Regions from separate parts of the Homo sapiens genome. Here all the other regions are linked to region 1. Evidence: promoter capture Hi-C in 16 types of primary human blood cells and fetal thymus (Javierre and others, 2016). All regions are on one chromosome and are shown on one strand. The core of a region is centred on a gene start or on the middle of the fragment in contact, and the rest is flanking DNA. Distances in the headings are between cores, read along the strand shown.

Region 1 (2,731 bases), core at 57-2,556:
TAATTTGGGCAGGTAAATAAGCTTTTGTTTCTTTTTTTTTTTTCCTCATAAATGGACTAGGAATATTACTCCTACCTACCTGGCATGGCCGATGTGCGAGAAAATGAGATAATCTCGTGGACAGGCTCTGAAAACTGCACTTTTACTGAGTAAAAAACCCTTTGCCTCTCCGGGCCCCCGTTTCCCCATCTGTAAAATGAGTCTGTAAAGTGAGAATGATACTCCCTACGCCGCAAGGCTCTTGCGGGTTAAACTGGAATATTATAAATGCACCATTTATTTGCAGATTGAAATTCTGTGCGTCCGGAGGTGGCGGGTGGGAGAGGGAATGAGCAGGGATGCAGGGTAGGCCCTGAGTTGCTGGGGGCTCAGCATGGCCGCTGCGCACATTGCATCATTTTGTCGACACTGGTGTGGGTGAAATCTTCCAAAAGAAATTAAAACAGAAAAAAAAAAAAAGAAGGGTCTGGGACTTAGCAGAAACAAGCCACAATCTCCAGATTCTACTATTCCTGGGCCACGTGAGGAGCGCCCACCCGTCTGGCGCTGCGTTCCCCGGGGCGTCCCAGCCTCTCCCGCCCAGCCCGCCGCCCTCCTCCCCCATGGCCACCAAGGTCAGGCTCTCGCAGGGAAAACGTCTTCAGGGGCTAAACATCGGTTTTAAACGAAATGGAAAACCTCCAACACGAATCAACAGCAGAGGAAAAGCAGACGCCAAACAAGCGCTCAGAACCCCTTCAGGGGCGGCGTGGTAGCTCTTCCCGGGGAACAGCGAGGGGCGCGGATGTCCCTCTTCCTAAAACTGCACGCGGGGTGCGATCCGAGACCCAGCGGCGGCGAGCGCGCCCGAGTCTGCTCGCGGGCGCCAGGCGCGCGGAGAGCGGCGGCTGCGCCTGCGCCAACGCCGTCAGTCCGCGGGGCCCGATCCCGACACCTAACTCCACAGAGAAGCTCTGCTCCTAAGGGAAAGGGAAGACTTCAGCCACAGTTTCGCAGCCAACCTGGCGACCTCACCTCTCTGGCGACCTCACTTCCCAGCCGGCTCCGTTTAAGAAAACCCCGCGCAGGACCGCGCCCGCCCCCGCGCCCGCGCCCGCCCCCGCCCCCTCGCGCCCGCCCCCTCGCGCCCGCCCCCTCGCGCCCGCCCCCTCGCGCCCGCCCCCTCGCGCCCGCCCCCTCGCGCCCGCCCCCTCGCGCCCGCCCCCTCGGGTAACAAACATGGCCCCCGGCGGGGCGGAAGCGCTTCCGCCCCCAACGAAGATGGCGGAGGGGGCGGGACTAAAAGGGCGTAGGTAGATCGCCGGGGGCTGACGAGTGCACCATGGCCACCGCGGCAACCTCACCCGCGCTGAAGCGGCTGGATCTGCGCGACCCTGCGGCTCTTTTCGAGACGCATGGAGCGGAGGAGATCCGCGGGCTGGAGCGCCAGGTTCGGGCCGAGATCGAGCACAAGAAGGAGGAGCTGCGGCAGATGGTGGGCGAACGGTACCGCGACCTGATCGAGGCGGCCGACACCATCGGCCAGATGCGCCGCTGCGCCGTGGGGCTAGTGGACGCCGTGAAGGCCACCGACCAGTACTGCGCCCGCCTCCGCCAGGCCGGCTCGGCCGCGCCCCGGCCACCGCGGGCCCAGCAGGTCAGTCCCCGTGCCCCCACCCTGCGACCCGCAGGCGGGTCCCGGAGCCCCTGGCCTTGCAGGTCAACCCCGCCCCCCTCTGTCAGTCCCAGACCCCGCGAGTCCTCACCTTCCTTAGCCAGGAGCCTATCCGCCCCTCACCCTTTGGGCCCCCCTCAGAGGACAGTGCCAGCCTTCCTTGCACATATGCGGCTGCTGATCCGTTCTGGAAATGCCATTCAACAGTTTCTTCAGGCGCTTTCCCCCGACTTCCGGGCCTTGATTCCTACACCTCACTGGGCTCCTTTCAATTTTAGCGGAAAACGCCAGGAGTTTCTGTCTTGACAGTTCAACGCTCACCTATATAACATGTCCTGACATTGTTTTTCCTCAGGTTTCTCCCCTATGTTGACACCTGCACTCCAAGTCATTTCTTCCTCATCCCAACCTTCCCCTTATCTCCCCAAGAATAACTTCCACAACCCCAAATAGCTGTTCTACCCTTTGGGAGTTGTTGAGGGTACCAGCTATCAAGCCCTTAACTTTATGTATGTATGTGACAGGGTCTCCCAAAGTGCTGGGATTACAGTCATGAGCCACCACAGCCGGCCAAGCCCTTACCTTTTAATAGCTGAACATTTTCATTTTCAGAACTAAGGCTTTTTTCATTCAGGTTCTCCTTATCCCGTGTTCTTCCCCCCAAACGCTATTGATTAGACACAATGAGGAAGGATGGGAGGTAAACAAACACATCCTCATATTGGAGCTGCAGCTTGCGTTCCTAAAGAATTTTTATTGGCCGGGTGCGGTGGCTCACGCCTGTAATCCCAGCACTTTGGGAGGCCGAGGCGGGTGGATCACGAGGTCAGGAGATCCAGACCATCCTGGCTAACACGGTGAAACCCCGTCTCTACTAAAAATACACAAAATTAGCCAGGCGTGGTGGCCGGCGCCTGTAGTCCCAGCTACCTGGGAGGCTGAGGCAGGAGAATGGCATGAACCCGGGAGGCGGAGCTTGCAGTGAGCCGAGATCGCGCCACTGCACTCCAGCCTGGGCCACAGAGCGAGACTCTGTCTCAAAAAAAAAAAAAAAAAGAATTTTTATTTCTTTATTTT
Region 2 (3,059 bases), core at 453-2,952, 530 kb after region 1:
CCGTGATCACTTTTCCCACCTCCCCCCTCCCCCCACCGATCCCACAGGGGACATTCAGTATCCCAAATACCCAGCCTGTTAGACATAGTGTTTGATCGAAGATCGAGTTCCTCGGATTGAGGCTGGGTTGAAAAATGACCCATATGTCCCTAGAGATGGAGCAGAGCTGGAGCGGAGCTTAGAATTTACAACCCAGCCTCCCAGCGCTGGGCCTGGACACCACGCAATTTTGACAGATGATTCTCATGAGAAACTTTCAGTTTCCATTTGATTATGGGCCCATAAACACAGATTGCAATTGAACAGAGTTAGGGCTCTGCCTGGATTGGACCTGCCAGGGCTCAGGGAGCCTTACTGGATGGCTCTGGCCTGCCTGTCACCTGCTGGTTCTGAGCTGCTGCCTACAGCTATGCATGTGTTGTGATGTGGCTGTTGGACGTATCCACATGCATCTCTTATGTGGGCATCTGCCTCTCCCATTAGCCTGGGCAGGGATTGTCTTTCCGATGGATCATCTAATCCTACCATCTTTGGGTGGTAGTTGTCCCTGCTGGTTATAGGAGGTTTCAGCTAACTTTGGTTTAGGGTTCACCATCTTGCTTTTACTTTTTCACTCACTCACTCATTCATTCATTCACCATTTGACATTATTGAGCAGCTGTCATGTGTCAGAATACGGACTTAGTAATACCAGGCGGACTCAGGGATACCAAGAATAAAGTCTCACTGCTAGCGTCAGAGGAGTCATACTTAAGACCGTGTCACATGCATTAATTTAGAAAAACGTTCAGGGAGCTAAGAGAACACAGAGGATAAACCCCTAGGCAGGAGGGAGAAGCCAGCCTGGGCTACCAGGAAGGGAGGCTGTTCACTCAATTCATCTCAGCAAGTGTCTGGAGTAGCTGCACTAGGCTAGACCCCCAGAGGATTAGACAGAGATAGTGCAGTGGCACAAGCTAGACCACCTGAGGATTAGACAGAGATAGTGCAGTGGCATAGGCTAGACCACCTGAGGATTAGACAGAGCTAGTACAGTGGCATAGGCTAGACCACCTGAGGATTAGACAGAGATAGTGCAGTGGCACAGGCTAGACCCCCTGAGGATTAGACAGAGATAGTACAATGGTGTAGGCTAGACCCCCTGAGGATTAGACAGAGATGGTGCAGTGCCAGTGTTCCTACCCCCATATTGCTTATCATTGTTGAGTATTTCTTCCAGCATTCTAGGATAAGACTGCTTCTTTCTCATTCCCCCTGTGGGGTAAATATTAGGAGTTGCTTCAGGACCCTTGAGCAAGGGGACAAGACAAACCTATAGCAGAGTGACACCTGCGGGGTCTGGAGTCTTCAGCTGGAATGAATTCAACAAATACTCACCTTGTGCCAGGCACTGTTCAAAGCACTGGGCAAGCAGAAGAGCCAAAGAGGCAAAGTCCATATTCCACTGGGGAGAAAGAGAAAGAGATCATCGTCGAAGGCGCACGTGCATAGGTCAAGTGCATAGGGTCAAGTGCAGAGGAGTGCAAGGAAGAGACTTCAGTCAGAGAACAGCTGAGAGAGGACGGAGGGCAAGTCCATGTTTATACACAGGCAGAGACGACGGCAGCTTGGACTGTGGTGGCAACAGAGGAAGTGGCTGGAGGTGACTGGACTGTAGATGCATTTTGAAAGTAGAGCTTTTAGAGCGAGGGGTGTGGGAGACAGAGAGGAGTGGAGGATGATTCGAGGGTTTCCAGCTTGAGAACTGGGGAGTGAGTTGCTGTTTACTGAGGCAGAGGAGCCTGGGAGAGAAACAGGTTTGGGGGAAGCCACTTCTGTCCCATAACTGTAGCACTTGACGGTTGTCCCAGGGGACTCTCACGTGCCCCCCCCGCCTCCCCCGCCTCACAGTTCCTGACCGGTGCTGTGATGTGCCCTGTCTTTTTGTGACCCCTGCGTCGGCCTTTCTTCCTCGGCTGATGCACCATTTGCACTGACCTCTGTGCTGCAAATGCAGCAGCCAGGCTTTTTGCACAAGCCTTTTTGCTCAAGGCCAGTTGCTGCTGGGAGAAAATGCCTGTCCTTGCAGGGTTCCCCGCCTAGTGCAAACCACAGCACACTGCCACTCAGAGCCCAAGGTGACCTTCCCACCCTGGGCGTGGGAGTCAGGCAATTCAGCACCAGCCCTGGGCCCCCAGGCCTGTGGATGCTGCTGCCTCTTTGCCGTGCTGTGCGCGGCGCCGGCTCCTTGTCCATAGAAACATCCCAGCCCACTCAGCGGCTTGCGAGGCCTCCCGCCCCGGGTCTGGTTTGCACCAGCCTCTTTTGTGTACCAGCTGCTCCGGCCGCCGCTCTTTCATCCCTGCTCCTGGGAGGGCCTGGCTCCGCACCCTGCACAAACACATCTGGACTTCTTCAGACCACATGACAGGAACAGCTGCTGCCAGAAAGAAAAGGACACAGTGGCCCTTTTGTAATCACTCTTGATTGTCTCCAGCCGTAGGGCACTTGTGTTTTGGTCATGGATTTAAGGACTTCCAAGATGTTTCTAGGAGCATATTATTGCCCCAGGCCTGGCTGTGCCTTCTGTGGTCCAGGTGGCAGCAGGAAAGGGTAGAGGCATTGGGACCGAGCAAAGAGGCTCCTGTAAGTGTGTCCTGAGGCTTCCACCTTCTAGGATAGAACAGGGCACACAAGGAGGAAGAAGGCAGCGATGTGGCTGTCACCCGCCGTAGCCACCTGCTGGTATGGCTGACACCAGCCCTGGGCCCCGAGACAACAGCCACTGCAGGCCTTGAGGCCCAGCGCTGGTGCTGAATCTCCTGTCTCCTGTGCACAGGACAGGAAGGTAACCTTGGGCTCTGAGCTAGAATGTGCTGTGGCTTGCGCTAGACGGGGCCTGGTGGCTTCCATGGTCTCCTGTTGACTCCACCTGCCAGTGTCTGCATCTCTTTGCCTGAGGGCTTTTTCTAAAGCTGTAAAAGTTTGCTTTGTCAGAAGAGGGGAAATGAATACCCTCCCCCAGAGCAGCCTACTCAGCTGGTGGCTGAGGGGATTGGGTGTATAAATACCCCAGCTAC
Region 3 (3,061 bases), core at 166-2,665, 520 kb before region 1:
TGCCTCAGCCTCCTGAGTAGCTGGGATTACAGGTGTGTGCCACCACACCTGGCTAGTTTTTGTATTTTTAGTAGAGACGGGGTTTCACCATGTTGGCCAGGCTGGTCTCCAACTCCTGACCTAGTGATCTGCCCACCTCGGCCTCCCAAAGTGCTGGGATTACAAGTGTGAGCCACCGTGCCCGGCCTCTTTCTCTATTTGTATCTTCTTTTGCCAACACTGAGGATGAGATTCTTGTATCTACAATGTATCTTATTTATTTAATCATAGTTTGCACATCAGGTGGTAATAGAATTCCTGTGAGAAAAAGATTTACCATCCAGAGAACAATGTTTGCACAGTTTTTTTTTTCTTTTTGCCTTTAGCCTTGTAGTATCTGTTCAAAAGACTGTTTTCCAAAGAGATTGGTGTGGTTATGTAATTCATTTGTAATACAACTTAGTTTCATTTGTTACTGCTTGTATTCCATTTGGGCTCCCCCATATTTTGGTTTAATTATTTATTGATTTGGGGCAATGTGAAACACTTCTGTAAGAAACAGTCGGAGTTATTCAAGAAGGGAAACTTGGCCGGGCACAGTGGCTCACACCTGTAATCCAGCACTTTGGGAGGCTGAGGTGGGCGGATCACTTGAGGTCAGGAAGGAGTTCAAGATGAGCCTGGCCAACATAGTAAAATACTGTCTCTACTAAAAATACAAAAATTAGCCAGGCGTGGTAGCATGGGCCTGTAATCCCAGCTACTTGGGAGGCTGAGGCAGGAGAATTGCTTGAACCTGGGAGAAGGAGGCTGCAGTGAGCTGAGATCGTGCCACTGCAATCCAGCCTGGGCAATGAAGTGAGACTCTGTCTTTAAAAAAAATAAATAAATAAAGGTAGACTTGTATAGACAACTGTCACTTCCTCCTCACCCTTGTTCCCCACCCCTACTCCCTCCTTCCCTCCCTTGCCACATACCCTCTCTAGGTAATCTGTCTTCTTTGGTCCTGTTTTATCCTTCCAAGTATCTTCTGCACAAGTAAGTGGATATATGTGTATTTTCTTATATCTCCTTCCTTTTTACATCAGTGACAGTATACTACAGATACTCATTTGTATTTAGCTTTTTTCATTTAACAGTATATCCTGAAAACTCCTCTAAATGAGTTCACAGAGATCTTCCCACTCTTTTTGATGGCTATATACTAATCCATGGTGTGGCTACACTATAGCTTACTCATCCACTCTCCCACATATGGGCATTTAGGTTGCCTCCAATATTTTGCAATTACAATGTTGTAATGGATTACCTTGTGTGTCTACGTAGTTTCATATTCTTGGAGGTGTATCTTTAGGGTAGATTCTTAGGAGTGGGTTTCCTGGATCAAAAAGGAAATGCGTATGTACTTTTATTAGATATTGCCAAATTTCTCTCCAGAAGGGTTGTACCAATTTGCATGCCCACCAGCAAGGTATGAGAGAGCCATTTCTCCATATCCTCATCACAGAGTATAATTTCACAGTTTTACATTTTCCCCACTGATAGGTCAGAAATGGTGTCCTAGTGTTGTTACAACTAGCATGTTTATAATGAGGAGGTGAGTTTCAGCGTTTTTCTCATCTGCTTGAGGATGATTTTTAAAACGTGTTTTGGTGAATTATCTGGTCACATCTTTCCCCCAATTTTTCTATCAAAATGTCCTTATTCTTAAAAGATGCCACTGAAATATACATAGATGAGAAGGATCCTGAAGTGTCAAGTCGTTCATTGGAAAAAAAAGTGTGTGTGCGTATGTGTGTGTGTGTGTGTGAGACACAGAGACAGAAAGAGAGAGAGAAAGTTTATCCATCTATCTGAGAGAACAACTGCCCCCCGCTTCCATACACAAAGAGCTAGTTGTCAACAGGCTACTATGTTCCCTTCCATAGCGCTATGGTCTAATGTGTGTGTGCCCCCAAATTTCATATTGTGAAACCTAATCACGATTGTGATGGTATTAGGAGCTGGGGCCTTTGGGAGGTCACTAGGTCATGAGGGATCCACCTTCATGGATGAGATCAGTGCCTGTATAAAAGAAACCCCAGTGAGCTAGCTAGTTCTTCCACTATGTGAGGCTACACAGCAGGGAAACACCATCTACGAACCAGCAAGTGGGTCCTCACGGGCACTGAATCTGCTGGGACCTTGTTCTTGGACTTCCCAGTCTCCAGAACTGTCAGAAATAAATTTCTGTTGTGTGTAATCTACACAGTTTACGGCATTTTGTTTTGGTAGCCCAAATGGACTAAGACATGTAGCAACAGTCAACATAATCTCCCAACCTCCCCTTCCTTTGCCTTCGTGGCTTCTCTATGACAAGACACTCTTGGAAGACCTTAGCTGCCAACAGGCTGAGCACAGCCCTGGGAGTCCCAGCAAACTGGCTGAGAACTTGGGTCTCTAGTCGTTGCTCTGTGAGTGCTGCCAGTGTGTGATGCCCGGCGCCAGATGTCCCAATTGTGTGTGTAAGATGGTGTTTCACTCTTGTTGCCCAGGCTGGAGTGCAATGGCGCAATCTCGGCTCACCGCAACCTCCGCCTCCTGGGTTCAAGTGATTCTCCTGCGTCAGCCTCCTAGCTAGGATTACAAGCACGTACCACCATGCCTGGCTAATTTTGTATTTTTAGTAGAGATGGGGTTTCACCATGTTGGTCAGGCTGGTCTCAAACTCCTAAGCTCAGGTAATCCACCTGCCTTGGCCTCCCAAAGTGCTGGGATGACAGGTGTGAGCCACTGTGCCCGGCCCAGATATCCCAATTTACTTGAGGATCCTGCCCAGCCAAAGTCCTAAAGGTGGGTTACAAGCCCTTGTCACTCTCCTTCAACTCACAATGTTTCACACACACACACACACACACACACACACACACTTGCTGTATTAAAGCAACTCTCTTTTTTTCAAATAAAATGGTAATATGGCTATAAAGAAACACCTGCCTTATTTGCCTGAAACAGGAAATAATTATAAAAGTAAACATGTCGAAAGCAAAATAGAAATAGAGGGCTGGCATGGATGTGATGGAAACCTAGACACTGCGGGATG
Region 4 (3,028 bases), core at 156-2,655, 580 kb before region 1:
GGAAACAGCAACAAAAGTCTTAAAGTCTTAAGTCCACCACAAAGATCTGATCGGTGTAGGTGGGGGAGGATGGGTGGTGGGAGAGAAGAGAGGAATTGTCAAAAGTGCAGTGATTTAGTGTCTGTCTCTTTCTTCCCTTCTCCCTCCCTCCCTCCCATCACCCTGCCTCCTGCACAAGGAACTATTGAGAAGGCACAGAACAAACGCTCCCTTATGCGGCTCCCACGGCGTCTCTCGGTTTGTCGGAGACAGCTGCCCAAAGCACGCTATGGTTACTCATTACCCGGGTTCCCAGGCAGGAAAAGGAGCAAACTTAATAGACTCGAACTAACCCTGAGCTCAAATACTCCAGCCATAAATAAATAAATAAGTCAGGTGTACCAGGGGAAGGGGAGGGAAGTGAACGGGGAATGGCTGGGGAGGGGTCGGCAGTGTAAGCGGACTGAGTGGGGCCGGGTTGCGGGGGCGGGGGTGGCGGTGAACACAACCCAAGAGTTTCTGAAAGGGGAGGGGAAGGATGGAGGGAGGGAGGAAAACTCTTTTCTCCCTTTGGAGGAAGGACAGAGGGTGTTTGTGTTGCTTGCTTGTCCCCGCCTGCAGAGTGGACGAGAGGCTCTCAGCTGGCCATCTGGGGACCTTGCGGAAAACTAGAACTTTGAGGGGAAAGGAAAGAAAGTCCTGTTTCTCCAGCGTGAGATGTGGCTGGGGTTTTGCTTTCCTCCTGACTCACAGAGTAAATGGTTTAGTTCATGGCCATCGAAGTGCCCATTGAACAGATGGGAAGGGCAAGGATGGAGAGAGAAGCAAAGGGACTGAGGGGCAGAGTGACTGTTGGCAGGAAGTCAGTCGTGCTCCAAAACTTTGAAGTCGTCTCTATGAGTGCTCCTCAACCCACACACTTTTGCCCCTCCCCCTACTCTGGAGACACTGGGCAACGTCTGGAGAGGTTTTTCATGGTCACAACTGGGAAGCCAGGGTGGTACTGGCATTTAGTTGGTAGAGGCCAGGATGCTACTCACCACGCTACAAGGCACAGGACAAAACCCTGTAATAAAGAATGATCCAGGCCGGGTGTGGTGGCTCATGCCTGTAATCCCAGCACTTTGGGAGGCCGAGATGGGTGGATCACCTGGATCACCTGAAGTCAGGAGTTCAAGACCCGCCTGATCAACATGGTGAAACCCCATCTCTACTAAAATTACAAAATTAGCCGGGTGTGGTGCCAGGCGCCTGTAATCCCGGGTACTCGGGAGGTGGAGACAGGAGAATCGCTTGAACCCAGGAGGTGGAGGTCGCAGTGAGCCATGATCCAGCCATTGCACTCCAGCCTGGGAAACAGAGCAAGACTCTGTCTCAAAATAATAATAATAATAAAGAATGATCCAGCCTCAAATGTCACAGTGCTGAGACTGAGAAATCCTGCTCAAGATGTAAGTCTCAGAACCCAACCTCCATCCCAGGCTGCCTCTAATTCTGCAGAGGGCATCTGTCAGTCCATAACAGGTCCATAAATTCACTCCTTCTTCCAGGGTGAAGAATGGAGAAAAATCAAAGAACAGCACATGCAACGATGCATTGGTGATCTCCTTCCTGCTAACCCTGTGGCCAAGAACACAAAGCAAACACGACCCCCAACAGAGAAGGCAGGGGAGGAGCCCACCAGTCAAACCAGCATTCCCTAGTCCCCGCCTGATCATTGAACAGACTTGAGGGGGCGCAGCATCTTTTACCTGGTCTCAGAATTTCTGCCAGTCTTGGCATGTTGGGGGCTTGGGAGGTTGCATTTTGGGTTTTGTTTTATGGCTTAATCTGGACCTCAATTCAGTCAAGTCAATGAGAGCAGGGACAGTCCCCAGTCACCATCTCAGGACCATGGCAAAATGTAATGAGCTTTTTCAGGAATTTAAAGTACTCACAGAAGGGCCTTCTGCAAAAATGAAGCATGACCCAATGAGTGTAGCCCAGCGCAGTGAGGGTGGACAACTTCAAGGCCATTGTTTTTCAGGGGGCTGTGGCAGCCAAGAGTTGCTGGGCCCTGTACAACCGTCAAAGTACTCCCAGGAATGCCACTGGTCTTTCCACAGTTGTCCAGGGGTGGAGAATCCACTGAGGGTCAATGACTCTGTTACAGTCATGTCAGTACCTTAAAGGTTTGTGGTGGGGGGCTGTGGAGGAGTTGGGGAGGGATTATATCTGTAGTGTGTGCGTGTATGTGATGTGCATGTGCATGTATGTAATGTGTGTGTAGATGTGTGTGATGTGCAATGTTTGTGCATATGCGTGTGCTTGTACCTGTATGTGATGTGTATGCATGGCATGTATGCATATATATAATGTGTGTGTGTACGTGTGTGCCTGTGTGTGTGTGTATGACACACCAGCTGATCAATGCCAGAACAAGAAGACCAAGGAAGATTCCAGAGATAAGACTGTCCTACATCTCTGATTGATGGGCATCTTTGAAGACGTAGGCTAGCATCTAGAGGCTTCGAGAGGAAGCTCTGCAATTTCAATTCCTGTCTCTGCTACTTCGGAGCTACGTTACCTTGGGCAAGATGTTTAATTTCAGCAAGACCCAGTTTTTCTCGTCTCTGTAGAGGGGCAATAAAAGGACCTACCTGTGGGTTTCAGGAATTAGTGAATTCATGGAAAGCACCTAGCACTGGGCACAGAGCAAGCACACAGATGTTGCCTGTTCCAATTATCACTGCTTCAGGAGACAGTTCTTCCTGGAGTCTAACCTAAGGCTGCCTGCCTCCTTCCCTGCCTCCGAGGGACTCCATTCCCCTGATCACCATCTCTGTGTGACACAGTCCTCTTGACTTTAGCTGCTTGTCTTTGGGAATGTCAAAACTCAACACTCCAGCTGTCCCCGGTTCATGTAGCCCAGCCAGGAAGGAACCGGGGGAGCTGATCACCAACTCTCAGCCTCACACGTACCTCGGGGACCCCAAAACATTTTCTGGTGGCCCAGCAGACTGAAAAAGTCTGGCTGGGGTTTTCCCCCTTTGTGCCTGCAGCCAATGCC

Evidence for each region. The method cuts DNA at HindIII sites, captures the fragments that hold promoters and counts their contacts. A CHiCAGO score of 5 or more calls a contact.
Region 2: a contact is called between a fragment that was not itself captured here and the fragment with the promoter of COG1 in region 1, in 2 of 17 cell types (total CD8 T cells and naive CD4 T cells). The highest score is 6.4, in total CD8 T cells.
Region 3: a fragment that was not itself captured here is called in contact with the fragment with the promoter of COG1 in region 1 in 1 of 17 cell types (neutrophils); the score reaches 5.7 in neutrophils.
Region 4: a fragment that was not itself captured here is called in contact with the fragment with the promoter of COG1 in region 1 in 2 of 17 cell types (M1 macrophages and fetal thymus); the score reaches 5.7 in M1 macrophages.

The regions. Positions count from the first base shown.
Region 1 is chr17:73,191,749-73,194,479 of GRCh38, forward strand. COG1 (component of oligomeric golgi complex 1) reads left to right here and starts at 1,307. Exons shown (of 14, transcript NM_018714.3): 1 at 1,307-1,636. The coding sequence starts at 1,322. RefSeq lists enhancers at 534-1,293, 579-628, 1,259-1,538 and a silencer at 1,589-1,798. The HindIII fragment of the contact is 5,644 bases long and covers 20-2,731 here.
Region 2 is chr17:73,717,546-73,720,604 of GRCh38, forward strand. No RefSeq gene overlaps it. Among named protein-coding and RNA genes, the nearest start is that of LINC02092, 68 kb to the right of the region's middle. The HindIII fragment of the contact is 6,543 bases long and covers 1-3,059 here.
Region 3 is chr17:72,673,216-72,676,276 of GRCh38, forward strand. The region is part of intron 7 of SLC39A11 (solute carrier family 39 member 11); the gene reads right to left. Among named protein-coding and RNA genes, the nearest start is that of LINC00511, 34 kb to the left of the region's middle. The HindIII fragment of the contact is 6,689 bases long and covers 1-3,061 here.
Region 4 is chr17:72,615,004-72,618,031 of GRCh38, forward strand. The region is part of intron 3 of LINC00511 (long intergenic non-protein coding RNA 511); the gene reads right to left. Among named protein-coding and RNA genes, the nearest start is that of LINC00673, 24 kb to the left of the region's middle. The HindIII fragment of the contact is 4,164 bases long and covers 1-3,028 here.